Regions from separate parts of the Homo sapiens genome. Here all the other regions are linked to region 1. Evidence: promoter capture Hi-C in 16 types of primary human blood cells and fetal thymus (Javierre and others, 2016). All regions are on one chromosome and are shown on one strand. Each heading gives the region's core, a stretch centred on a gene start or on the middle of the fragment in contact. The rest is flanking DNA. Distances are from core to core; before and after follow the strand shown.

The links. Contacts are between HindIII fragments. The CHiCAGO score rates a contact against its expected background, and 5 or more counts as called.
Region 2: a contact is called between a fragment that was not itself captured here and the fragment with the promoter of LINC01182 in region 1, in 1 of 17 cell types (total B cells). The highest score is 5.5, in total B cells.
Region 3: a fragment that was not itself captured here is called in contact with the fragment with the promoter of LINC01182 in region 1 in 3 of 17 cell types (monocytes, M2 macrophages and total B cells); the score reaches 10.8 in monocytes.
Region 4: a fragment that was not itself captured here is called in contact with the fragment with the promoter of LINC01182 in region 1 in 1 of 17 cell types (naive B cells); the score reaches 5.4 in naive B cells.

Annotation. Positions count from the first base shown.
Region 1 is chr4:13,651,568-13,658,515 of GRCh38, reverse strand. It overlaps LINC01182 (long intergenic non-protein coding RNA 1182), which reads right to left and starts at 3,337. Exons shown (of 4, transcript NR_121681.1): 1 at 3,165-3,337; 2 at 662-769. RefSeq lists an enhancer at 3,763-3,812. The HindIII fragment of the contact is 4,521 bases long and covers 1-3,968 here.
Region 2 is chr4:15,194,920-15,201,539 of GRCh38, reverse strand. The region is part of intron 2 of C1QTNF7-AS1 (C1QTNF7 antisense RNA 1); the gene reads left to right. Among named protein-coding and RNA genes, the nearest start is that of CPEB2, 200 kb to the right of the region's middle. The HindIII fragment of the contact is 488 bases long and covers 3,066-3,553 here.
Region 3 is chr4:14,784,674-14,792,093 of GRCh38, reverse strand. All of the region lies in intron 2 of LINC00504 (long intergenic non-protein coding RNA 504), which reads left to right. Among named protein-coding and RNA genes, the nearest start is that of LINC00504, 100 kb to the left of the region's middle. The HindIII fragment of the contact is 2,973 bases long and covers 475-3,447 here.
Region 4 is chr4:15,005,235-15,012,569 of GRCh38, reverse strand. It overlaps CPEB2 (cytoplasmic polyadenylation element binding protein 2), which reads right to left. Exons shown (of 12, transcript NM_001177382.2): 2 at 4,984-5,265; 3 at 4,143-4,232. It overlaps C1QTNF7-AS1 (C1QTNF7 antisense RNA 1), which reads left to right. Exons shown (of 6, transcript NR_125911.1): 4 at 1,998-2,077; 5 at 6,000-6,099. Among named protein-coding and RNA genes, the nearest start is that of CPEB2, 6.4 kb to the right of the region's middle. The HindIII fragment of the contact is 2,021 bases long and covers 2,705-4,725 here.

The DNA.
Region 1 (6,948 bases), core at 2,088-4,587:
GGTTTTTCTTTAAATTGACTTTTTTTTTTTTTTAGACAGAGTCTCGCTCTGCCGCCCAGGCTGGAGTGCAGTGGCATGATCTCAGCTCACTGCAAGCTCTGCCTCCTGGGTTCACGCCATTCTCCTGCCTCAGCCTCCCAAGTATCTGGGACTACAAGTGCTCGCCACCACGCCTGGCTAATTTTTTCTATTTTTAGTAGAGATGGGGTTTCACCGTGTTAGCCAGGATGGTCTCGATCTCCTGACCTCGTGATCTGCCCACCTCGGCCTCCCAAAGTGCTGGGTAAATTAACCTTTTTACTTAAATACATATATTTAAAAGGCATCCCTTATCACTATCACAAATAGAAAACCATAATCATTTGCTATACATGTAATCATAATTAAAGGAAAATAAAGCAATCTAAGAAAATTTTGGCTGGGCCCCACTGCCTGCCCAAGGACCCCAAGCTGCTGCTTGTCCCTCTCTGTGGAAATGGCAGCATAGTATATGTTTAAAGGCACTAAGGTCATGTTGGCATCAAAGGAGACTCTTTTTGCCCTAATCAGAATAGAAAAGAGCCACATTCTCTCCCAAGGGATGTCCATTTTATCTAATACAGAGGCTAGGTGCCACCCAAGATCTCTCTCAAGAACTTCACTTTGGATAAAATGGTCTCACCACTGTTCCTTAGGTTAACGTTGTAATTAGTTCATCTAATGCTCCAAATTGCCAATATCTGCATCTTCTTCACCATGACCTTCACCTGCTACCATTGCCAGGCAGCTCCTGTGAGAAAACAGATATGCTCAGAAACACACACACGCACAAGCACATGCTCCAAAACAATTTTTTAAACAACATAATGCTTCCCTGGCACTTCCCCAAGTCCACTGCTCTAGGAATCGCTGACCTCGGGCAGGTCTACGTCACTACTTTTTCTAAAGAAATCGCTGCCCATGTACAACAAAGAGCAACTTCCATTGAGCATTTGGGGAGCTCTTGAAGCGACTTCCTTTTTTCCTTCTCTCTCTTTATAGACGCGATGTGGAGTAGGGAGCAGGTGGTACACCCTTGTGGGAAAACAGGTACAGAGACTGTGGGGGGCAGACAGGGACAAAAGAGAGAGAGACACTGCCTTCTGCTTATTTTGTGTGGTATAGGAAGAAAATATTTAAACGTTTCTACTTTAGATACAGTCTGGCTTCCAATTCCAGTTCTATCATTTTCTAGCAACATAAATTTGGGCAAGTTGCTCAGCCCCTCTGAGCTTTAATCTCCTCCTTAGCAAAATGGCTCTGGTGACACACCCTTCCTTGCGTTGTGAGTGTGTAAGGCAGGTATGGTACCAGGCGCCGAGATAAACATTCATCTAACAGTCCCTTCCTCTTTTACCTTTTGTTTGTTTGTTTTTACTTTGGCACCATTTATGAAGGTCCAAAATAAATCCCTTTTTTATTTGTTTGGTTGTTTGTTTGTTTTGCCTTCTAAATCCTGAGTCTCATCTACAAAGTGGAAAAAAAAAAAAGGCTGTGAATTTCCATAATGTAAGTTTCGTTTTCTATGACTCGATTATGGCAAGTGATGTATAAAGGCTGAGTGGAGTGACAAGGAGGGGCACAGAGAAGAGGGAGGACAAACTTTACACCAGCAAATCCAACAATCGGCCCCTTTTGAAAAATCATTAGCAGCCTGCTGGAAGCTCCAAGTCTCCCAGATTTGGGATATGAGAGAGTAACAACATGAATCTAGAAAATGTGGTGCCTTTCGTGCATAGATTTGAATTAGAGAATTCTTGGTCAGTTTTGCATATGAAGTTGGGGAGAAGGCGTGGGCGGCGCAAAGAAAAACAGAGAAACACCTCCCCCTGCTGCCTGGATGGCGAATAGCAGCAAAGATGCAAAAAAAAAAAAAAAAATTCCATGGTCATATAAAAACCCTCAGCCTATTCCGAGGGTTTGCAAAGGATTCACTATGTGCAGGCAGCTGAATTTTATGGAATGCATTTTCCTATCCTAAGTTACCTTCAAAGGTCATAAAAAATGATCTTAGGACATTATTACAATGATGATGCTTTCCACTGGGCATGTTGTTATTTGTTTCTTGAACAGGAAATATATTAGCGTAACTTTTAAATTAAAATGATATAAAAGTTATAATTGAAAAGTCTTGTTTCTGACTGCCTTACGTATACCTAGCTACTTTTATTAGCTTTTCATATAAATATAAGTAAATGTGACTAATGTAGTCTTCTTTTTTTCCTTCTTACACAATAATTAGCTGTTTGACACTCTTCCGGATATTGTTTTTGTCACTTAACAACATAACTTGGTGATCCTCCCAGAGCCGAAAAGCTCTCCCAGATATGTTTCAGGGCAGCGTAACCTTCCTTGTTCTTCCTTCACTGAGCATGTTATATGTGGAAAGAACACATCCCCACTTGGGGAAACCAGATAAATTGTTTAAATTATTGCAAATGTGAATGATTTTAATGTAGAAATAACCTTTTTCATTCCACATTAATCACAAATACTGTTCACAACCCTTCGTAATAAACTTGTCTCCTGCTTATTTTTTTTTTTCTGGTATTCCTTGTGATTAGAATCTCTCGCCTTGGTATCCGCTGTGTTCAAGAGCAGAACAGAGCTTTGAACTTTACAGGCTAGTGCTCAGAATTAAAAGTGCTTAATGCCACCAAGATTTCTATTAAAAAACCCAGGGTAAAGGAAAAAGCCTTTTGCTTCAGCTGAAATGTTCTTGTAAAGGGCAAAATGGAAAATACAAACACCACTGCCGTTTGCTGGTTGGATACCACAGCCATCGGCACCTCCTGGAAATGGCAAGCCCATGAGTTCCTGATGGAAGCCAAGGTTAGTCTTATTGCATTTGAGAGAGTTAGAAAAGTGTCTTTCAGTGTGGACAGAGAGCCAGCAAGATTGTGAAGGTCAAAGAAAAATCCAATTATCCATAGCAAACACTGACCATACAATTAAATTACACCAGTCAGGAAAGCATCTGATCTTCTGCAACGGACTTCTTCCAGCAAATTTACCCTTGAATCAGTCTGGGCCATTCATTGGCAGCCAGCTGATCAGTTTCCTTCTGCTGCCCTGCATCCTGCAACATGTCTGTAGCAGATGTATCACTGCCCACCTACATCCCCTTGGCCCACCCCAGAGGTCACCTGCAGCTGCAGTGGTCAACTCCCAAGCACGCAGACATCTCAGCATCAAGAACCTGCTTCTCTCTGCCCAAGGGCTTTTTCTGGCCATAGAAGTATCCCCTGCACAGTCCAGATATGCAGGCTGGACAGAAGTTCCAGGGAGCTACCATTCCCAAGAGCAAGCCTCAAGCAATGCCTGGGAGATAAACACCCAGCTCCCTTGCTTGCCCCTTGCCTTGCTGGGGCAATGCCAAAGTGTGTGGTGCCCATACTCTCAGAGGGACACCAGTGCGACTGAGCCCCAGGTGGGACCTACTCATTAACATGCTGTTTATTGGCTTTTCTCTCTTCCCTACTGTCTCATCATTTTTCTGGGATTGACTCCTGTGAGAGCCTTGATCCAGTCAAGAGACAGAAACTACACAGTAAGTTCAACAGGACAAGTGTAACACAGAGTCATTAACTACAATGAAGAGTATAGATATAAGGAAACTCTACAAAGCAACCTAGAGCTACGAGGGAGAACTTAGGAAAAGACGAACTTGAGAAGGATTCAGACCTCTTGGGAAACGGTGAGGTTCAGCCCACGAGACAGCAGAGAAGTTAGCTGCTTTGGCTAGGCTGGAGCCGGCCTGGAATTGCTGGGAACCTCCAGGTGCAGCCAGCCTCCGTTGTGCACGCAGGGGGCGCCAATCAGCAACTGATGGTGAGGGATGGAGCCCGGGAGCTGGCGGGGGCTGCAGGAGGCTGCAGAAGGAGCGGAGCGGCTACTCAACGCCTGACCCTGCCAGCTAAGTGCAGCTGCACACAGGCCGAGCAGAAGCTTGCAAAGGGAGGCTGAGTCCCGGACCCAAGTGTAGCAAGCAGGGAAAGGGAGGGTAGGGCACCGGTAAGGGCAGGAGCCCTTCGGAGGCTCACTCTGTGCTGGGGAGCTCTGCTTTCCATGTCAAGAAGCCTGCACAAAAATTATCACCAAGCCGGGGCTGCAAAGTCACAGAAGGACCAGTTCCACCCGCTGTCCTCGTCCACCCACACTACTGAGCCGCGGTCCCCGCACAACCGGCGGAAACCCTCCTCCAGCTGCGGTGTCCTCCGGCGCCCTCTACTGAGGAAGCCTAGCATCGCGCGCACTTAAAGGAGACGGGCTCAAAGGCACGCCTTCGTTAGTCCCAGAGCATAAATTAATAAAGGGTCCATTCAGAGCTGAGAGGCACAAAAAAAAATTTTTTAAAAAGATAAATACACCTCCAAAGTCCCACTTGCACTCAAACCCTTGTCTCAGGATCTGCTTTTGAAAGAACCCAAATCACGACAATGTCAGACAGAGATGTGATTTTTGTTGACAAAAAGAGTCAGACTCTAAAATATTTAAAGAGATTTATTCTGAGCCAAATATGAGTCACTAATGGCCCATGACATAACCTTCAGGAGATCCTGAGAACATGACCCCAAGGTGATTGGGGCGTCACCTAGATGTATACATTTTAGGGAGACGTGAGACTTCAATTAAATACATTTAAGACATACATTGTTTCAGTCCAGAAAAGGGAAAGTGGGGAGGTCTGCTTCCAGTTGTAGGTAGATTTAAAATTTGTCTGATTTGTCAATTGGTTGAAAGAGTTACTATCTCTAGAAAGAAATGTCTCGGTTACAATAAGAAGTTGTGGAAACCAAGGTTTTATCACGCAGATGAAGCCTCCAGGTAGCAGGCTTCAGAGAGAATAGAATGTAAATGTTTCTTATCAGACTTAAGGTCTGTGTTGATGTTAAATGCTGGCCACGTTTCCTGAATTCCTAAAGAGAGTAGGGTATAACGAGACATGTCTGACACCCCTTCCCGTCATGGCCTGAACCAGTTTTTCAGGTTAACTTTGGAGTGCCCTGGCCAAGAAGGGGTCCATTCAGATGCTTGGAGGGGCTCTAGAATTTTATTTTTTGTTAATATTTTAATCTTGGCTCTGTATGACCTCAAGAAAGGGTTTTATCAGCTTAGAGTCTCCACTTTCTCATCTGCAAGATGGAGGTGATAATAAACAGTCCACCTCACAGGGACTATTCTTGAGAGAATGAAACAAAATAGACCACCTGCTATGCACTTGGTACAAAATAAGTGCTCAAAATAAGTGCTCAATATCACCTCCCTTCCTCCTTTTCAAACCAAATCAAAGCCCCAAAGTTTCTTCTTCCTTTCTTTAAGTAAGAGTCAAGGTATGAGAATGCTCCAAGCTACTCTGCTCAAGACATTTTTCCCTTAAATTTGGCCCAGGCCATCTTGGAGGAAAATGGAGAGATTAGAAGGAGGCCTTGACCTGAAAAGGAATGATTTGAAGTATTGGAAACAAATGATAAACAAGTATTTCTCTACAGAGGAAAAAGTTCCAGTATAGAAGTTCTCTAGGATATGACAATTTCTGTTGGCACTTAAATGAATGAGCTTTAAAGGGAGGAATAGCAGTGTGATAATTGCTACCATTAATTAAGAGTTCACTATGTGCCAAGAATTCAAAGTCATAACCTCTCTTAGTCCTCATAACAATTCTTTAAGGTAAATGCTATTTTTAATCTCATTTATGCAAATGATGAAACAGAGGCTCGAAAAGATGAAGCAGTTTTCCCAAGGTCAGAGCCAGGATTTGATCCCAAGCCTACTTGACTCTAATCCTTGGCTTCAATTGCTATGGTGGATACAACTGGGATTTAGCCTAAGAAGTCAGAAGTCTGCGGTCCTGGTCCAGTCTTTATGTTTAAATCCCTATGTTTTCCAGAGAGTAATTCTTCCCTCCCCAAAGGGATGATTCCTTCAACTGTAAAATGAGAGAGCTGAGTTAGAATCAGGGTTTTTGTAGGGGTGGCACCACACCCAAGGATATTTTGGAAAAGTGTGGGGATAGTTGGTGCTATGATGAGAGGGCACTCAATGGTATTTCATGGTTGAGGACCAAGGTGAGTAAATGCCCTACATGTCCCAGAAAATATCTGTGTAGTTGAAAAAGTTATGTGAATGTAGAACCTTGCTCCATTTTACATCTAAAAACAAAACATTCTTATACCATTTTAATATCCAATGAATTTTCCAGAGTCAATTGAAGAAAGATTGTACTTTATTTTATGATAAATTTTACCAGGAGTTGGTCACTATTTGGTAAATCATATCACCAACAACAGTGCAAAACATGATATGCATTAGCAGAACATCGCCTCTCACTTTGCATTTGTACTGATTATCGATATAGTCACAAATGTCTGTGTATTTCATGAGGCCTTTGAGTGTAGTATTCCCCAGTTATTTGTATATTGAAACACTCATTACCTTATTATAAATTATTTTCTTTAGAGTTTTCTTTTGTAGAATGGTTAGGATACCATATTGATTAAAAATAAAATACATGTGTAAACAGGTTGTATTATCTGTGAACTTCACTTCAAGATATTTAAGGAGGTATTAAAAGATACTTGTTTCAAAAGAGGAATTCTGGGTGCAAGGAGGAATTCTGGGTGCAAGGAGAAAGGTTCTAACTTCTCTATTCACTGAAACAAAAGTCCTAATACAAAGCCAAGAATCAGGATGCCCAAGATACAGATATATTAATTTAATCAAGAATGACTTATTAGCACTGACTTTGAGCCAGGTACTGCTGTGGATTCTGGGGACACAGCAGAGAATAAGACGACCTGAGTCTCTGACCTTGTGAAGCATTCCCGGTAAAAAGCAAATGTCTATGTCTTAGTCTCTTGCTTGTGTTATAACAAAATACCATAGATTTGTTCATTTATAACAACAGAAATGTAGTGATCGTAGCTCTGG
Region 2 (6,620 bases), core at 2,060-4,559, 1.5 Mb before region 1:
TTTGGGTGGGGACACAGATTCAAACCAAAACAAGGAGTTGTCAAAGTTTGGGCCACACGGTCTCAGGAGCAACTGCTCAACTCTGCAGTTGCTGTGTAGCAGTCAAATAATCCCTAAATGAATGGGTGTGGCTGTGTTCCAATAAACCTTCATTTACAAAACAGGTCGCTGGATTTGGCTGCCATTCTAGTTTGCCTACCCCTGTTCCATATCATAAGACCCAAGCTCATCAGCTTAGGATTCAGGGCTCCTCAATACCTGGCCCCCCATCTACTTCTATATCTCCACATACTGTCCTTGCCCACTTTATGCCTTCCCAGCCTCTCTATCTAGAAGCCAGAGATACCCAACTGGTTATAATAACCCTGCCTTACACAAATATGGATACAGACACACATACACTGGTACACACAGACACTCTGCTGTTTCATGATTCTGTGATTTTACACTTGCTGTCTCATCTACCTGAACAGATTTTCCACTCTCTTCACTTGGCCAAATTCTGTGTTTTTTTTTTTTGTTTTTTTTTTTTGTTTTTTAAGGTGGAGTTTTGCCCTTGTCGCCCAAGCTGGAGTGCAATGGTGTGATCTTGGCTCACTGCAACCTCTGCCTCCCGGGTACAATTCTCCCGCCTTAGCCCCCCAAGTAGCTGGGATTACAGGCATCCGCCACCACACCCAACTAATTTTTGTATTTTTATTACAGATGGGGTTTCACCATGTTGGCCAGGCTGGTCTTGAAGTCCTGACTTCAGGTGACCCACCCGCCTCGGCTCCCAAAGTGCTGGGATTACAGGCGTGAGCCACTGCACCCAGCCCTATTCGTCCTTTAGGTGATTCTAAGGTGACTCCTTCATCTGGAAGCCTTCTCTGAGCCACCCATGACTGGGTTGGGTAATTGTTCTCTTTCTTTCTATCTACTTAATGCATTGATGAGACATTTTGCATTGAGGAGGCTGTCTTTCCTGGCCATCCAAGGAACTCCTGGGACCAGGGACTTGCTGTTATTACCTATACCTCCCTGCAGCATAGCATAGTATTTAGCTTGGTCAGCTGCTAAGTTTACAGAACTAAACCATAAAGCTACAGTTATCAAGAGAAAAAAGGCAGGTTATTCTGCAGATGTTATAAGTGGGAAGTTTAGGGATAGAAAAAACTGGCAGGTTTATAAATCCATGGCACAAGTATAGAAAAAGCCAGGACTGAGGGCTGTGTAATAGCACATGGGAATATGGGTGCACTAAATAATGGAAACCAGAGGGACAAATAGGAAGGTTTTACATTTTTTGCTTTCCGGAGTCCAGTAGTAAAAGGCATAGCTACCAGGCTCTAGAACTCACAATGCAGTTGACAGGGTAAGATTTTAGCAAATGAAACAATCAGAGAACCATAAAAAGATAGCCGGTTATCAAATTCTGGGTTATGTGATACAGAGCAAGCTTGGAAAAAAAAAAGATCAACGGACGTTAGAATGGTTTAAAAAAAGCCTCTGGGGTGGCGTTAAGAAAACAATACCAAAAATATCACAGAATTCATATTTTTCTATTTTTTCAAGTAAAAACATTTTTATTGTTGTATAAAATATGCTCCCAAAATTATATATATCATAAATATACAGCTCAATGAATTTTTACAAAGTAAGCACATCTCCATAACTAAGACCTGGCTCAGGAAATGGAACATTGCTAGCATCTCAGGAGCCCCTTTCTATTCCCTTTCAGTCACTACATAACCCCAAGAAAACTACTGCCCTGACATGTAATAGCAGAGGTGAGTTTTTCCTTTAAATGAAATTATGTAATATGCCCTTTTATGTCTGGTTTATTCTGCTGAAAATTATATTTTGAAATTCATTCAAGTTGTGCTTGGTGGTAGTCTACTCACATTGCTGTTTAGAATTCATTGTGCAAATATACCCATTTATTTATTTGTCCTTCTGTTGATGGAAATTTGGGTGGTTTCCAGTTTTTAGCTGCTTACAAATAATGCTGCTTTCTTGTACAAGTCTTTTAAGAGATGAGTATATGCATTTCTGTTGAGTATATACCTAATGAGTAAAACTACTGGGTCATAAATTATAAATATGTTCAGCTTTCATAGATAATATTACACCATTTTCCAAAATGGTTGTACCATTTTTTTTTATCCCACCTGAGGTATAAGCAGGTCCCTGGTGCTCTGCATCCTCATTAGTGCTTGGCTTCATCACTAGCCATTCTGGTGTATGTGGAGGGGCATCTCTTTGTAGTTTTAATTTGTATTCCTTGATAACTAATGAGTATCTTTCTAAACTTTATCCACTGTTTGTGTATCCTTTTTAATTAAACTATTTTGCCCTTTTTCTGTTGCGTTGTCTGCCTTTTTGCTCATTGATATGTAGGAGTTCTTTATATATGTTGGGAATATGCCCATTGTCAGATATATGCATTGCCATCTTACGGGCCTTTTCCTTCTCTCATTAGTGTTCTTGATAAACAAAATAATCTCCCACAACTTCTAATTTTCTCTTGGACCCTTGGACTCTTAGATCCTCATTACTTCCTAGTTCATAGACTCACTGAAAGAGGAGAGAAAGGATTTCCATTAGGTATACAGAGAGCTTGAAAACTGTACTAGAAAAAAGCTTAGAGATCATCTCTCTCAGTTCCCTGGGTTTTTCTTTTAGGAAACTACAAGCCAGAGAGGATGGGTAACTTGCTCCTGGTCACAGAGCTGGTAGCAAAGTTGAGATTAAATCATGGGCTCTCATCTCCTAGCCCATCGTTCTTTGCACAGGCACATTCACTATTTCATTAACTTGGAGTAATGGGAAAAGAGTCTCCATGGGGAGTGACAGGACAATTGATAATCTGTGTCTGCATCAATAAGAGTTTCAACAACTCCAGGACCAGAAGACGAAAAGAGCAGGCCCTTCTGGGCCCAGCCTCCTCTACCCTCTTAACAGGAGCAGCAGGACATTTAGAAAGCTTTCATATGCATCACGAAGCCTTGCTAGGCCGTGCACAGCTTGATAGCTACATCTCCATTCCAAAAATAGCTAGGAGTTATTTATGTTGGCAAAAAGCTTGGGACAATAAAGAGAGATGGTGGATTTAACCCTACCACGGTTTTACTCTAATAAGTCATTGTGCTCTAGCAGAAACCCTGATTACCCAAAGTGGTTGGGAAATTATAAAGTCAAAGCTACAATTTATCTCATCTCTAAGGAGCCGATGAAATCGCCTGTCAAGGCTGTATCCCTCGCTGCCAGGGCCAAGTGTATCTGCTGAGGCAGCAGTCTGCCCTTAACAGGCAGAGGGTGCTGCTACAGGAAGGGTTGTATAGACACTGAACAGAACACCCAGGGTCTCCCTCGAGCACGGTGGATGTTAACAATGCCCTTCTCCTGTCCGCAGGCTCTGCCCATTACCCTGGCATCTTCTGGGGGACATTTTGACTGCTCCTTGATCACCTGGCAGTCCGACTGGATTTTTAGAAAACCTGATCTGATCAGGATTGCACTCCTACTTCATATTAGCATGACTTATTTACAGATAGACAAGATATCAGAAGCTTACACCCAAATGTGTAGCTCTGGATGGCGGTACTATGCATAATTTCTATTTTTATTATGAATTTTCCAATTCTTCTATTACATTAAACCATATGAAAATTTGCTGGTTTTGTAAGTGGCTGAATATTAGCAAGTTCAAGTGTTTTGACCTCATACAACAAGCAAGGATTATTGTGAATTTTAAATGTACTAAAGGCTTTTAAAATACTATTCCTATGTTAGAATCAAAATAATGCTAATATCTGCCACTTATTAAGTTTGTTTTATTGCTAGACTCTCCACTAAGCACCTGATATACTATTTAATACTCATAAGGTGGGGACTATTATTACGCCTATTTTACAGGTGAGTAAACTGAGACTCAGGGAGCTCAAGTTCCAGTAAATCATTCCCTCCATTAATAAGGGCAGAGCTGGAGCCCAGAGGCCAAAGCTCTTGTTCTTAACCATTATCCAGAGTCCCCATATTTCAACTATAACTCCAAGTCTGGAAGTGAAGGCAAACTTTTTGATGATGAGGCCAGGGTTTGTGAGTAGGGCTGGATCTCATTCATTCATCTCATTGTCATGAAGCCTCCTAATAACAGATACTCATTTGCTCAGCAAATACAGTATTTGGGGAATAATAAACAAAGGGTTAGACATCCTCCCTGTCCTTAGCTTTCCCAGTATGCGCGATGGCTTAGAACTAACCATGACCTCCCCAGCTGCCCATCTCCCACCTCTGGCCCCATTTTCTTCTCCCCAGGGTACATGGACACTCACCACAATCAAAACAAAGAATGTATGTTAACCTCAGGCCAGCAGAGGGAGAACCAACACACTAGCCTCTTTCCAGGTTTAAAGCAAACCTCTTCTCTTTAGAAAATGGTCCCATCTGTTTGAAACTGCCCAGCCCTTTTTTTTGAACGTTTCCCAGGACTGTGTAATGTTTCCGGAGAAGGTAATGTTACATTAATGATAAAAACAGCTCTTATTTATTGAATACTTACTGTGTGCCAGCATTATTGGTAGCTATTTTACATACAACCAGTATGTAAAACTAGATCTAGCTGACATCAGAGAGCAAATGTTTTACCAAGGAGCTTCAGTTATAGGTTTCGGAGGGCTGTGAGTACCTACAAAATTGTACTTAATTTATATGTATGCTGGGGAGTGGTGAGGGCTTGGGGGCTGTGGGTCTCTGTGTGTATACAGGCTTATGTTTTTATTTTTTATTTTTCCCAAGGAGAGGAGCCTTGCCTTTCATAAGAGTCTCAAAGAGGTGAATGACCCAATAAGATTTTAGAAACCTCCTTAGGAAGAGAGAATTAAGAAAAAGCTGCCTAACTGACATGAGAAAGTTCTGAAACCATTCATTGTTCTTAAGCCTCTGGCTTTACAACTGAATGGACCGTGTTCAGGCAAGCATGAAACAGTCAAGAACATTGATCAAGGAAGGATGAATTACAGATTCTTATCTATATTATCTAAGCTATACTGGAATAGAATGAAACATTTTGTGCTGTTGAGATTGTGAAACTGGTTTTGGAACCAGAGGAGGAACCAGAGGAGAACTCCTATAACATTGTGGGGTCAGGGATAGGAGAAGGCCAGAGTGGCCAGTGTATGCGTTTGTTTCCGAAGTAGAGCAGAGCAGGGAAGGAGAAAGTTCAAGCTTATCTAAGAAGGATAATCCATTCCACTTGGAAGGCACTTAACAGTTTATTACAAAGCTGTTTCATAAGCGTGCACTCTGAAGGTCTTCAAAATAATCCTGTAAAGTCAGCAAGACAGACTGTTACCTGCTTTTGATCCATAAAGAAATTAAGGCACAGAGAGGTTAAGTCATCTACCCAAGGTCACACAGTGAGTAAGAGGCCATGGTCTTCTATCAGCTAGCTGGATAGATTGACAACTTTACTAGTATAAAATATTTTAGCAATTTTTTTTCGAGATGGAGTTTCGCTCTTGTTGCCCAGGCTGGAGTGCAATGGCGCGATCTCTGCTCACCGCAACCTCCGCCTCCTGGATTCAAGCAATTCTCCTGCCTCAGCCTCCCAAGTAGCTGGGATTATAGGCATGCGCCACTATGCCCGGCTAATTTTGTATTTTTAGTAGAGACAGGATTTCTCCATGTTGGTCAGGCTGGTCTCGAACTTCCAACCTCAGGTGATCCTCCCGCCTCGGCCTCCCAAAGTGCTGGGATTACAGGCGTGAGCCACCGCGCCCAGCTGTATAAAATATTTTAGTAAGAAAGATGTTTATTGCCAAATTTTCCTTAATTGGGGACAAAAAAAAAGTAGCTGATAGATGCTATGTTAGTTTTAAATTCAAACTTTCAAATGTAATAAATTTGAAGGGCATGGCTTAGTGGTTAAGAATTTAGGCTCTGGAGTCAGACTTCCTGGCCCAGTACCAGGGTCACCCCTGACAAGGTGATGTAGCAAGCCAGGGAGTGCAAGCCAGTTAATGCCCGGGAGTGACCCTCACTCATGGAGGGACAGGAGTTGTGAATAAACACTCCAGGTTTCTTGCTGCTTAGGGGTAGAATTCTGAGGCGAGTTCCATGCAGTTTCTCAGAAGGTTCTGGGGAGGTCTGAACCTCGAGTTGCCCACAGAGGTAGCCTTGTCAACATTCTCTGTGGCCTCTCTCTTCTTCCCTGCCTCTTTTCCCCACTCCCTCACTGTGCTTTTGGGATGGCATGTTGTATTAGTTTGGGTCTTCTGAGAAGAAATGCCAAAGAACATCAAATGTGTAAGGAACCCATTGGGGGAATACGTGTATTGGGTAAACGGGAGGGTGAGGGGTAGGCAGGGAGTCTTCAGACGGTGATGCTGATCTGGCCCTTGTGAGGAGGTGGGAAGGCAGGAGGATTGGGCTGGAAGAGTCATGGATTGCATTGCAGTCCTAAGAAAGTTCTGACCAGGCTGATCAGACTCTTGAACTTAAGTCACTCACCTGAGGAGTCCTGTGTCCCATAGGAAAGGGCCTATATGGGTGCCCGCTGTCTTCAACCGCTGGCCTACAAGCAGCCTGTCCTCACCATTGATGTGGAGGTGGGTCTGGAAGGGCAGAAGCTGGGTCAT
Region 3 (7,420 bases), core at 712-3,211, 1.1 Mb before region 1:
ATTTCTGGATTCTATATTCTATTGCATTTATTTATGTGTCTGTTTTGTACAAGCACCATGCTGTTTTTAGTTACTGTAGCCTTAGTATAGTTTTAAGTCAGGTAATGTGATACCTCTGGCTTTGTTCTTTTTCATTAGGAATGCTTTGGCTATTTGGGCTTTTGTGGTTCCATATGAATTTTAGAACAGTTTTTTTTAGTTCCATGAAAAATGAGTTGGTAGTTTGATATAAATAGCAGTGAATCTATAGATTTCTTTGGATGTTGTGGACATTTTAACGTTATTGATTCTTCCAGTCCATGAGCATGGAATGTTTTTTCCATTTGTTTGTGTAATCTATGATTTCTTTTAGCAGTGTTTTGTACTTCTCCTTGAAGTCTTTCGCCTTCTTGGTTAGATTTATTCTTAGGTATTTTATTTTATGTTTTTGTGGCTATTATGAATGAGATGGCATTCTTGATTTGGCTCTAAGCTTGAATGTTATTGGTGCAACAAAATGCTACTGTTTTTTGTACTCTGATTTTGTATCTTAAGATGTTACTAAAGTTGTTTATCAGTTCCCCAGCCTTTTGGCAGAATCTTTAGGGGTTTTTAGGTCTCTAAAATACTTATCATCTGTGAAGAGTGATAGTTTGACTTCTTTTCTTATTTGGATGCCTTTTATTTCTCTCTCTTGCCTGATTGCTCTGGCTAGCACTTCTAGTATTATGTTGAACAGGAGTGGTAAGAGTGGACATTCTTGTTTCAGTTCTCAAGGGAAATGCTTCCAGTTTTTGCCCACTTAGTATGATGTTGCCCATGGGTTTGTCATAGATGGCTTTCATTATTTTCAAGCATGCTCTTTCAGTGCTTAAGTTCTTGAGGGTTTTTATTATGAAAGGATGTTAGAATTTAATGAAGACTTTTTCACATTTATTGAGATGACCATATGGTTTTTGTTTTTAATTCTGTTTATGCGGTGAATGACATTTATTAATTTGCATATGTTGAACCAACGTTACATCCCAGGAATTAAGCCTAGGTGATCATGATGAATTAACTTTGTAATGTGCTGTTAGATTTGATTTCCTAGTATTTTGTTGAGAATTTTTGCATCTATATTTGTCAGGCATATTGGCCTGTAATTTTCTCTTTTTTTCATGTCTTCACCAGCTTTTGGTATCAAGATAATTGTGGCTTCATAGAATATGTTGGGAATGAGTCCCTCCTCTTTGATTGATGTTTTGGAATAGTTTTTGTAGAATTGGTACCAGCTCTTCTTTGTATGTCTGGTAGAATTCAGCTGTGAATCCATCCAGTCTATGGCTTTTTTTGGTTGGTAGGATTTTGTTGCTGATTCAATTTCAGAACTCAATATTAGTCTGTTCATGGTTTCAGTTTTTCCTGATTCAACCTGGTGAGACTGTGTGTTTCCAGTAACTTACTCATTTCCTCTAGAATTTGTAGTTTGTGTGTATAGAGGTATTTATAATAGCCTCTGAGGATCTTCTGTATTTCTGTGAGATATTATGTCACCTTTGTTATTTCTAATTGTGGATATTTGCATCTTCTCTCTTTTTCTCTTGTTAATGTAGCTAGTGGTCTATTGATCTTGTTTATCCTTTCAAAAATACCTTTTGATTTCATGGAGTCTTTGTGAAGATTCTGGGACATAAGTTTTGTTCAGTTCTGACCTGATTTTAGTTATTTTCTTCTGCTAGCTTTGGGGTTAGTTTGTTCTTGCTTTTCTAGTTCCTCTAGGTTTGCTCTCAGATTATTAATTTGAGATCTTTCTAACTTTTTGAGGTAGGTGCTTAGCACTATAAACTTTTCTCTTAACACTGTTTTTGCTGCATCCTAAAGATTTTGGTATGTTGGGTTTCTGTTTTCATTTATTTCACATAAGTTTTTGATTTCTGACTTAATTTCATTCTTTACCCAAAAGTTATCCAGGAGCAAGTTGTTTAATTTCCATGTAATTATGTGGTTTAGAGAGATCTTCTTGTTATTGATTTTTAGTTTTATTCTACTGTGATCTGAGAGTATGGTTGGTATTGTTTTGCTTTTTTAATGTATCGAGACTTGCCTTATGGTGAGCATCTGGTCAGTCTTGAAGTACGTTCTGTGTGCAAATGAGAAGAATGTATATTCTGTGGTTGATGGATGGCGTATTCTGTAGATGCCCATTAGGTCCAAATGGTGAAGTATCAAACTTAAGTCCAGAATTTCTTTGTAAATTTTCTGCCTCAGTGATCTCTCTAATGCTGTAAGAGGGGTGTTGAATAGGGCTTTCCTCACTATTATAATGTTATTAAGTCTTTTCATATTTCTAAAGTAGTTGTTTTATGAATCTGGGTGCTCCAACGTTGGGTGTGTATATATTTAGGAAAGTTAAGTCTTCTTGTTGAAGTGAGCCCTTTATCATTGTGTAATGCCCTTCTTTGTCCTTTTTTACTGTTGTTAGTTAAAGTCTATTTTTTTCTGATATAAGAATAGTGACCCCTGCCTTTTTGTTTTCCATTTTCATAATAGATCTTTATCCAACTCTTTATTTTGAGTCTATGGGTGTCATTATGTGTGCGATGGATTTCTTGAAGTCAGAAGATGAAGGGATCCTCTTTTTTTTTAAAAAAAAATACAAATTGGCGTTCTGTGACTTTTAATTTGGATTGTTAGACCTATTATCATTCAAGGTTAATATTGATATATGATGTTTTGGGGCTACCACGAAGTTATTGGCTTGTTGCTTTGTAGTTTGTATTGTGTGGTTGTTTTATAGGGTCTATTGACTATGTACTTAGGTGCATTTTTGTGGTAGCTGTTATTGTTCTTTGTTTCCATGTTTAGAATGCTCTGAAGAATCTCTTGTAATGCTCGTGTAGTGGTAATGAATTCCCTTAAAACTTGCTTATCTGGAAAAGATTTTATGTCTCCTTTGCTTATGAAACTTAGGGAGGGATATAAAATTGTCAGTTGAAATTTCTTTTCTTGAAAAATGCTAAGTTTAGACCCCCAATCTCTTCAGGCTTATAAGGTTTCTGCTGTTAGCCTGATGGGATTCCCTGTGCACATGATCTGACCTTTTTCTCTAGGCCTTTCTCTTTAAGGTTTCTTTTGCATTGACCTTGGACAATCTGGTATCTCTATGCCCTCCTGTTCATTTTGTACAGTATCTCATAGTATTCTCTGGATTTCTTGTATCTGGATGTCTACCTGTCTAGTAAAATTAGGAAAATTTTCTTCAATTTTTCTCTGTAATACGTTTTCCAGGTCATTTGCTTTTTATCCTTCTCTCAGAAATGCTAATGACTCATAGGTTTGGTTACTTTACATAATACCATATTTCTTGAAGACTTTTTTAATTTTTTAAAATTCTTTTTTATTTTTGTCTGATTGGATTACTTGGAAAGACCAGTCTTCAAGCTCTGAAATTCTCTCTTCTACTTGATCAAGTCTACTGATAAAGCTTTCAATTGTATTTTGAAATTCCTTAAGTGAGTTTTTCAATTCCAGAAGCTCTGATTGATTTCTTTTAAATATGTCTCTCTTTCTTCATTTCCTCGATTGCTTTAGAAGTTTCTTTGCGTCAATTTTCAACCTTGGCGTGGATCTTGTTGAGCTTCCTTGCAATCCATGTTTTGAATTATTTATCTGTAAATTCTGAGTTCCCATTTTCATTAGGGGCCATTGCTGGAGACCTAATGTAATCCTTTGGTGGGGTAATTACATTCAGAATTTTCATGGCACCAGAATTTTTGTACTGGTTCCTTCCCATCTGGAGATGCTGGCACTTTTAATTTTTGTAATTTTTTTTTGTGGGTAGGATATTTCCTTTTTCTTGCTTTCTCTATAATATATTTTTCCCCCTTCCTTCCCCTCACTCCTTAGGGGATGCAGTTGTAAACAATGCAGGGTAGGATCTTTTGGCTTTGCTCCTATGGCCCTATGCACTTCTTTCTGCAGGTTTTGTACTGGGCTGTGCAGTTTGACATCCCAACCAGTAGAGGGTGCTTATAGGTAAGAGCTGGCTGTGGCCAACATGGCTGGGTATATACTTGATCCTTGTTTGCTGGCAGAAGCTCCCTGTTGCTTCAGTCAATGGGCTGACTGGTGAAATGCATAGTGGTCTGAGCTTCCTGCTCAGCCCCAAGGGGATAGTGACCATGTTGAGCAGGGCCAGACTGAGCATGTACTCTTATGGGTCCTCTGATTGCAGGCACAAGCACTAGTGCTGAGGGAGAATCCAGTGGGTGGCCATCAAATATCCAGAGGTGTGCCTAGGCAATGATCTAGGAAACCTTCTTGGCCCCAAGTTCTCCACATGGCACTAGGGGACAGTCTAAACTCCTAATCCAGGAAAATGGGTCCTCTCAATGCCTAGAGATCTGCCTGGGCATAGGTGAAGGAGGGCTCCCCTATACTAAGATCTCTACACAGAAGTGGTAGGGCCACTCAGGTGGCTGATCCAGGTGAGAAGGTGCTTTGAATGCCTGGAGATCTGCCTGGGTAGGGAGCAAAGAAGACCCTGCTGCATTGTGATCTATGTCCATTAAGGGTGGAGCAGTTCAGGCTGCTGATTCAGGTGAGCTGGTGCACTGAATCAGCTGGAGATCTGCCTGGGTGTGGAGATCTGCCTGGGTGTGGAGCAGGGAGGACCTTGTTACACCACAATCTATGTCTCGGTAAGGTGGGGTGGCTCAGGCTGCTGATCCAGGCAAGCCGGTGCTCCGAATGCCTGGAGATCTACTTGGGTGTGAAGCAGAGGAAGCCTCCCTGTACTAGAATTTCTGCATGGGAAGGGTTGGGCAGGTCAGTCTGCTGATCCAGGTGAGTGGGTGCTCTGAATGCCTGGATATTTCCCTGGGCGTAGAGTAGGGAGGGTCCTGCTGCATCATAATCTATGTCTATGAAGGGTAGGGCACCTCAGGTTGCTGGTTCAGGTGAGTGGGTGTTCTAAATGCCTGGATTTCAGCATGGGAGTGAAGCAAAACATGTGAAATGCTTAGATCAGTGCCTAGCACATGATAAACTTTATATATTAGATATCTATTAGATAATATATATTAGATATCTATTAGATAATATTATATATTAGATATCTATTAGATAATATTATATATTAGATATCTATTAGATAATATTATATATTAGATATCTATTAGATAATATTATATATTAGATATCTATTAGATAATATTATATATTAGATATCTATTAGATAATATTATATATTAGATATCTATTAGATAATATTATATATTAGATATCTATTAGATAATAATATATATTAGATATCTATTAGATAATATTATATATTAGATATCTATTAGATAATATATATTAAATAATATTATTCACTCCTGAAATTGCTTTTTACTATGTGCCAGGGAAATGAGGGGTGGGGGCAGCGTCAGGGTATGTGATAGGGTCTGTAACTTGCAGCCCTCTCTTTTCTACCAGAGTTTTGAAACAATTGAGAAATAGGCAAGAGAATTAGCAAATAGAGAAGAAAATGTTAGATTTATTATTGATAAAGTCTATGTAGACATACATCTTATAGACTGAGATTGAAAATGGGCTTGCTAACTCCAGCTCCCTGTCTAGGCCTTGAGTTAGCCCACCCTGGCAAAGTTGGATGCTACAGTCCAGACTCCTTTATTTAGGTCACTCTGTCACTGGTGCAGGTGTGGAAGGGAAGAGAGAGAAGAGATTCCCAGGGCTTGGGGTCCTTGTAAATTAGCTCCACGCTATGAACCAATGACTACTGCTATTAAGCAGGCAAATGACTACACCTCAGGGAAGAGTAAAAGATGAAGCATGAGACAAGGTCTTTTATCTACTAAATAAAGTGGGGATAGTCTGTTCAATTATGCGAAATCAAGCATAGGAAGTCTCGTATGTCTTCAGAAAACACTGAGTCATGCCGGAAGATGCCTTGATGCTATGAATAATTTTTGTGACCATGGTCTCAAGTATTCTTCACAATATAAACCAAATAGGAAGAAAGGGAACTGCCATTAACTGAGTTCTCACAACTTCCCAGGTGATGATCCAGCACTTTATATGCATCTCTCAGGTGGTCTCGGCTGCTCATGGTGGAGAAAGTAGGGATTGGGAATATTCCACATATGACTATGGGCCCAAGAGGAGAGAGTAGGATGCTCAGGGAAAAATAAGACCCACTTATGAGTCTACATTTATATGCATGTTCTTTCCAAGATAATTCTCATAATTCATATTTGTTTGGTGAATTCTTATTTTTTACTTTATTAATCATATTGTGGTAAGAATGCTTCCCACATGATCTACCCTCCTAAACATTTTTTAAAAATTCAAGTGTACAATATTGATGTGTATAGGATTGCTGACTATAGGTACAACAATCTCTAGATCTCTAGAACTTATTCAACTTGCTTGACTGAAACTTTGAACCCATTGACTACTAACTCCCCATTTCTCCCTCCCCCCCCAGGCCCTGGCATCCACCAACCACCATTACCCTCTTTGATTCTATGAATTTGACTATTTTAGATACTATTGTAGGTATTTTAGATACCTCACGTAAGTGGAATCATGTGGTATTTGTCTTTCTGAAACTGGCTTATATTGCTTTCAGTGCAATGTTTTAAAGGTTCATCCATGTTGTCACATATGGCAGAATTTTTTTCTTTTTAAAGGCTAAATAATATTCTACTGTATGTATATGCCACATTTTCTTTATCCATTCACCTGTCAATGAACATTTATGTTGCTTTCACATCTTGGCTGTTATAAATAGTGCTTCAACAAATGGGAATGCTAGTATCTCTTAGAGATCCTGATTTCACTTATTTTGGATAAATACCCAGAAGTGGAATTTCTGGATCATATGGTAGTTCTATTTTTAATTTTTTGAGGAACCTCCATACTGTTTTCCGTAGTGGCTGCACCATTTTTTTTATTCCCACTAACAGTGTGTAAGGTTATCAATTTCTCCATATTACCAGCACTTGTCTTTTGTTTTTTGATAATGGCCTTTTAGATTGATTCAATCCTTTCTCCTTTAGGACAACACTTTGAAAGAAACATAACAGTTCAAATATTTTTTGGGCACTCACTAAGTGTAGGGCACAGAGCTTGGACACTGGGCTATAACTGCAAGCAAAAGCAGACACAATCCTTCACTTTGGGAAATTTTGTGGGAGAGAGATGATGGCAAATAGCCACCATGACAAATGTAAAAGGGGAACTCTGACAGATCTATGAGGGCCAGGGTACATGTCTAGTAGACTGTATAATGGGGTAAGGGTTGAGAAGAGTATTCTGAACAGAGGGAATAACGCATGCCAGAGTCGGAGGGCACACTTGAGAAAACCAGCATGGCTGATGTGCAGAGCAAAAAAAGGGAGCAAATGTGTTACTACCCCCACTTACAGATGGAAATACAACCTCAGAACAATGC
Region 4 (7,335 bases), core at 2,466-4,965, 1.4 Mb before region 1:
ATAAGCTCTCTTCTCATTCTCTAGTTGTTCTACATAGATAACCCTTATTCATCTAACTAGACTCTTACCTTCTCCAAGACAAAGAATAGTATTTTTTATCCATATATTCTAAGGGTAATTAAAACACTAACATACAGAATGAATGAAGATACATTTCTTTTATTTTCTTTATTAATTTCGAACCTCAATAAAGTGTGTTAGCCATTCTCAGAAAAAAAATAAACAAATGTTTTAAAAGGCCAAAGCTATTCTAGTACTCACAAGAATTAAAATAGACAAGTGGAAAACATTTCAAGAACAATTAAAGCACTGAACACAGAATAGGAAACAAAAAGAAGGCATCCATTACTTAAGCTGTAATACAAGAGTCCATTCTTTTCCATTTTCAGTGGGCATGTAACAGTTTGATGACTATGAATGTCCCTGAAGTTCATCTGGTTTACAAACCACTATTTAAGAAATGCTTTATCAGATAAACAAATTGGGTTTGGTATGCAACTATATACTGTTTTTTTGTGTGTAAGGTGAGTAAAGATTCAAATAATATTTTTTCTGAGACAGATCTCCAAATTATGATTTACCACATTATCATAACAGCCTATTAAAGATTAATGGAAAGTATCTTCAATTAATTCAAGGTAGTTTATTATGTGACATGCTCAAGCACTGCAAGTAGAGCTTGTGGAAGAGCAAAAATTGAGAGTTGATATATTGATAATTCCCCAGGTGGAAGGCAGGCGGACATGCACGTACATGCTTCACACACTCAATTACTGTTCCAAGACATTACTTTGTTTACAGTGAGCTGATATGTCATATGTAAACTTGTAAGTAATAATAACCTCACTTAAAGGATATTTACTCTTTGATTTAAAACATATGAATAAATATAGCGTAACCTTAACATTAAACTGAAAACTCCTATTTTTTTGGGAAGAGGGGGTGGTGTCTTGTTATGTTGCCGAGGCTGGACTCAACTCTGGGGCTCAGGCATTCAATCCTCCTGCCTCAGCCTTCCAAGTAGTGCACATTGCTGGATCTGGCTGCAAATTCCATTGTAATATAATTTAGAATTCAAACTTTTGAGTACGATTCTCGCAAGGGTAACTAGCTAATGACATTTTAAAGTACAGTAATTAATAACCCTAAGCAAATTCATGTAGATATACTGGCCAGGCATGATGGCTCAAGCCTGTAATCCCAGCACTCTGGAGGCCGAGGCGGGCGGATTACATGAGATCAGGAGTTTGAGACCAGCCTGGCCAACATGGTGAAACCCTGTCTCTGCTAATAATATAAAAATTAGGCGGGTATGGTGGTGCATGCATGTAATCACAGCTACTGGGGAGGCTGAGGCATGAGAATCGCTTGAACCCGGGAGGCAGAGGTTGCAGTGAGACGAGATCGTGCCACTGCACTTCAGCCTGAGTGACAGAGTGAAACTGTCTCAAAAAAAAAAAAAAAAAAAGAAAAGAAATTCATAGAGATATGTATGTAATACTCATTTTAAAGTCAGAAATGTTTATAATAATTTATATTTGCTTTTAGAAAGTTTTAAATTTGAGGGTTTTCTATTTTTAAAAAATCTTATTTAAAATAAAATTCCAACCCACAAAATTTTACATATTAACAGAAATAAAAATCAACCTACAAAACTAGCTCTTTCTTATTTATTGAATTCGATTACGTGTTCAGCTCTTGACACAGGTAAAGCCCGCGGTATCCAAGTATAAGAATTAAGACTTCAGTTCTAGAATTTTGTATTATATTCTAGGCCCCAATCAGTTTGAGACTAAAGGAAATAAAAAGTAAAATGTTGTAAAATAATGTACTTGTTAACAAAAATATACTAGAATTACACTGTATATGATGATAAAAGGTCAGAAATGCAGATAATCTCCTCAGACATTTAAGTGACTAAGAATCTTCTATAATTTTAATTTTGCCAAAGAATGAGAAACTACCCAACATTTTAAGATATCAATTTCATTTTGTAGCTGCTGCTGTATTTTTAAGAGGCTCAACTTCAAATACTTCAACCTTTTATGGAAAGATGGAAACACACAACAAACTATGTGTAAGTACTCTTAGGGTACTTAGAGGAGACAATGACACTGCTTTTAAGTCCAGTTGAAAGGTCACATACTACCTCCACTGCCTTAGACTAATGCCTAAGACCCTTTGCTCAAAGAAACCAAGAGGCTTGTATTCTAAAAATAGAGGCAAGGGGGGTGGGGCAGCATGGAGGAAAAGAAATGGCCAAAACAGATCAGAGAAAGTGTTAAAAGCTGGCTGGAAAGGCCTTAAATGACCCAGTTCAAGGTCCCCCTTTTACAGATAAGGAAACTGTGACCCAAAGAGATGAAAACCTATAAACTATGTCATTCAATGTCATAAAGATTATGAGGAAGAGGAAGAAGATCCAAGTTTCAGGCCTTCTTTCCTTCCAGTTCCATTCACTTTCCATTATCTCTTTTTTCCCCCACCACTGTGTTTTACTTCATCACATCACACCTCTGGCTCAAAAGTCCAAAGGGAATGCCAATATCTCAGCAGTTTACCAGATAAGTTTATCTTTAAGCACCAAAATCATTTTTCCTAAAATAAATTTCCCTAAAATCTTAGGTTATAATACAGGTAAAAGCAGAATAGCTTTGATTGAAGTCTAAGTGGGAGGGCAGCCCCGGAGGCTGGTGTGAAAGCTTCCCTTTCATTATCACCCCTATCTCCTCTCTAGCATCCCTCCAACTGAAATCAACTCAATAATCTGATTTCTCAACATCTGTCCCTGCCTCATGGACCATGTATGCCAGCTAATTTGTATTCTTTTCCATGGATACTTATTTCTCCTATATATGTATCCTATATATGTATCCATCCTATTGCTTCTTTCTGCACAGAGTAATTATGTCCTCTTCTATTTGAAAACATTTCTCTTGCCACCTTCAAAATAATTACATTAATTTTCTTCTCCTAAACATACCATCTCCTAGGCATTCATGTATTGAATTTAAATACAAAAATGCTACCATAAAAACGTCACTAATAAGGCTTAACTGGACCAGACTAGAGAAGAGAGTAGAGGTAAATAGCTAACTTATATTAACAAGACAATACGTTGCAAATTGCATGAAGTAACTACCATTTCTAGGTGAAGACCCTGGCAGGACTACTTTGGAAAACAGGCAGGACTTGGCTAAAACAATTGTTAGTGGTTGATTATCAAAATTAATGCTAACCTTCTAGATTAGAATGTTACTTACAAACGTATTATTAATCTGTTTATGTCCTTACTTGTAAAATCATCTCATGTTGATAAATTAACCAAGGAAGAGACTTAGAATAACATAGCTCCATTCATATAACACACACAACGTTAAGTCTATGCTCATTCAAACTTGAGCTCTGTAAGAAAGAACCTGCATATATAAGGACTGAGTTTTCTATAACCTATAATAATCCTCACCACCTGGTACCTAGTATACATTCAAATTCAGTTTGCAGGAAGAAAGATAGCATTTTGTAACCACCAAAGGTGTAAATGTAATTTGATTAAGGCTAACTCCCAGCTTTTTGACTAACGGTTTCTCCATAGGAAACTGATTATTTGGAATAAGTCAGGGTATAAAAGCAGTAACAAAATTTAGAATACTAGGCTATATATTTTTTAATAAAGGTGAAAAAACTGAACCAAGAGAAGTCTTTTTTAGAAATATATCTCAAAACAAATACAGACTTCATGACAAAAATTTACTGAAAAGTTCTATGAAACATCAAATATAAAGCTAGATGTTAAGTAAACATATGATTTTGTACCTAATTGCATTTAATTCTGAAAAGAGATACAATCTGCTTAGTTTGACTGATGTTTAAAGTCAGGTGCTCTTGTGTATATAATTCCTTTTTCCAAAAAAAGTTTATTATGTTTTAGAATTATAAAAGGATTACTCTTAAATTTGAAAATAAAAAATTTCTTACATTAAATAGTTCAAAGCAGGTGATCCTTAAAAAATAAATTGCTTCAGTGTCCTCTAACATATGTTTCAATAGGTATAATAAGAAAGTAAATAATAAATCCTACTCATAATATAAATACTAAACTCCTAACCGAAATCCTAAAAAGTATACACTGTGCAGCCTACCTGGTCTATTCTGGATGTTCCGGCTGCAGTGCACCAACTATCTTGGAGTGAATCTGAGCCCCAAGCTGGCAACTGCAAACTAGATCTCACCTTCAATAGCATAGAAGTTTTCATCAGAAATGAGCAGTTGTCTTCCCCATACCCACCCAACGAAAGAAAGAAAGAAAACAAAAAATAAAGCTCTATCTTAAATCCTCATTCCATCCTCTAAAGGTTTAAGAAAAAAACAAAACAAAACAAAAACCTCACTTGCAATAGCCATAAGGGAACTTCAAGAAAATAATAAAAATACTGAAAGAAAAAAAAAGTCTAATCAACGTATTAGGCCACATTTAGAAAAAATAATCGGTGAATTAGTGAAGATAAATTTAAATTAGATGCAAAAAAGCCCTAATATTATTTTGCCACAATCACAGCTGTACTAAGTATATTCTAATATATATACAGCCAATTATAGTCAATTCTAAGAACAGTTACAATTACAGAACATATTAGCTTAGCTATATTAAAGGAGAAACAAATTTTGGTGGCCCATTAGAATTTATAAATTAAAGCATTCTTAAAGAGCTGCTAATTGAAAGCTTCAGTATGTATTTAATAAATACAAAAGGTTTTTCTACGTTTTACTAAGCTTATTTTCCATTGCGTGTTTAGAGAATTATTTTACATTCTCAATTTTCTCTGTATAGATATTTTAACCTTTGTTAATTAAATTACATGCTTAAAAATTAAAACTTTATTTCAAAAAATGTTAATTTTAGCATACCACTACCACCACCACCCAACTCCCTATTTTGAAAGATTAACATTAGAGATAAGGTCATTTACATACCATTCTTACCTGTAAGGGTAAGAGTGTATTACTATTGTTGTCTGTTCTGAACACATTATCTTCAATCCAAGATTTTGGAGTCAGTGATGGAGTTGAGCGAGTAAATTTCGGTGGTGCTATGACATTACCAGAAAACGGTTTCTTCAATGGAGATATCTGATTCATAGTTCCTGGGATTCCCATGTTTCCGGTTCTACGATGATCTCTGCCATGCATTGCTCCCCAGGACATACTTCCAGTGCCCCAGCCACTGCTCTGATGGTTGCTCCAGGGAGACTGTTTCAGAAGAGGCTAGGGAAAACATAGCTATTTAAATTGCGGCATTTAAAGAATTTACAATTCAAATTCAAATTCAAATTTCAGACCTAAGAATTTATATGAATGAAATATATAAAGGCAAAAGAATACATCTTTTCTAGGTTATAAAAGTAACAGTCTTGAGATCTTTCTATGTGAAATCATATTTGATGCTGGTCAAGTTTTCATCTTCTTGTATACTATAAATATCATGATATTTTATGACAGTTACTAAAATAGAACCATGCAGTTCCTTTTTATCCTTCAGAGATAACTGTATACATGATAAATATGAAGAAAAAAATTGAAATTAACTCTGAAGATTCTTAAAGATATAACATACATGGTGATCTTAAAGCAACCATATTAATTATGCTAGGCACACAACTAAAAATATGGTCTTTGTTAATTAAAATATCCTACTCATACAAGTGAAATATATAGACTTTATGTTTCCAAAACAAGTTGCACTACTACAAAAGTGGGAATTACTCTTGTACAAATTAAAATCGCCTTTTGAAATAAGGACAGTATAGAAACTATGTCATTTTTCTGCATTGTTTATTTAACTGTTAAGGCATTTTATTCCAGTTTTAGCATAGTTTGTCTTAATTGTTTTTATTTCACTTAATTATCCATAAACTGTGAAGCAATTATCTGATGTTGCCCATAGGTGGATCCACTGAGGTATACTGCTAATTAACTATATGCTTTGATTATTCCACTAGAGATCTTGATACAAGTCTCCATCAAGTTGATTCATTTTCAAAAGTAAATTACATCCTAATCTCAAACCTGTGGCAAGACAAGTCAAATCATCAAAGAATGGTAAATCCATCAAAACGCTAATAATTGTAGTTTTGGGTTTTTTTTTTTTTTAAGAAGTATTCATTGCTGGTAATTCTACTGTCAGTAAGTTTATACTTTAATACTTTGGTGTTAAGATGTAGCTAAAGAAGTATGAACCATACAGTTACTACAAATAAATATGGTTCTCTTAAAATTGAACCTGCTTTTTGTAAGACAATTAAAAGAGAAACTCCTGATCTACAGCACCAATTTTTAAACACTTTTAAATGCTAACATAATCATGAGTATATTATTACTCTTTCCTCTTCCACAGAGGTCCAAAGCATAATTACAGAGCCATGGACAAACCACTTCATTCTTGAGGGCCTTACTCTCCTTATTAAATGATTTAATGCTCAAAGTTATCTTCCAGTGATCTAAAATTCCATATGAAAGCTGTGTGACCTCTCACACTCCATGGCTAGACCCATCTTTTGTCCAAAAGCAAATTACAGTTAAATATGGATCATGGTATATGTTCTTCCAACGCTCTGTACCACAACTTTAAGTAAATACAAAATTACCTACAGATAATTTTCTGTGGGCAAGTTTCCAGATAACAAAATGAAGATCCTGAGACACAAAAGACAGTTGCTGAGGGTTATAAAAATCATGAAAAAGTGGAACATTATTTCAAAATCCCTATTTTCAATCCTCATAGGCCACATTCTCTTTTCTAAGAAAGAAATCAGTGATTCAACAAAAACTGTTCACTGTCACTTTGGTTAACTTAGATAAACTGTTAACTTTCACTTGGGTTAATTTAGATAATATTCACTTTAAAAAGACTAATCCTTGAAAACTTTGGTCAACTGAAAAAGTTATGGGGTTAAGGTCATATTTTGCGTCTCTGTCAATCCTTAATCACGAAAATAGAAAATGGACTTAAACAGAATGAACTCTGCAACAAATGCTAACAAGATTCAAAACCAACAAGACACTCTTTCAATGCCAATTTACCAATCTAGCGGTCACCCAAAAATTGTATTGAGGGAATAACAAAAAAGATCTTGAATCAAAAAAGATCCGGAAAATAAAAATTCTGCCCAGTGTCATTTCACAATATTACCTACTTAAAATACACACGGCCCACATATTCCCTTGTAGAAGGTTAAGGCAACCAAAAAATGTACCGAAAGTCTACGAGGAAACACACCAATCCCAGATCCAAGTTCAGTTTTGTCTTAAAACCCACAAAACATGACCCCAACATTG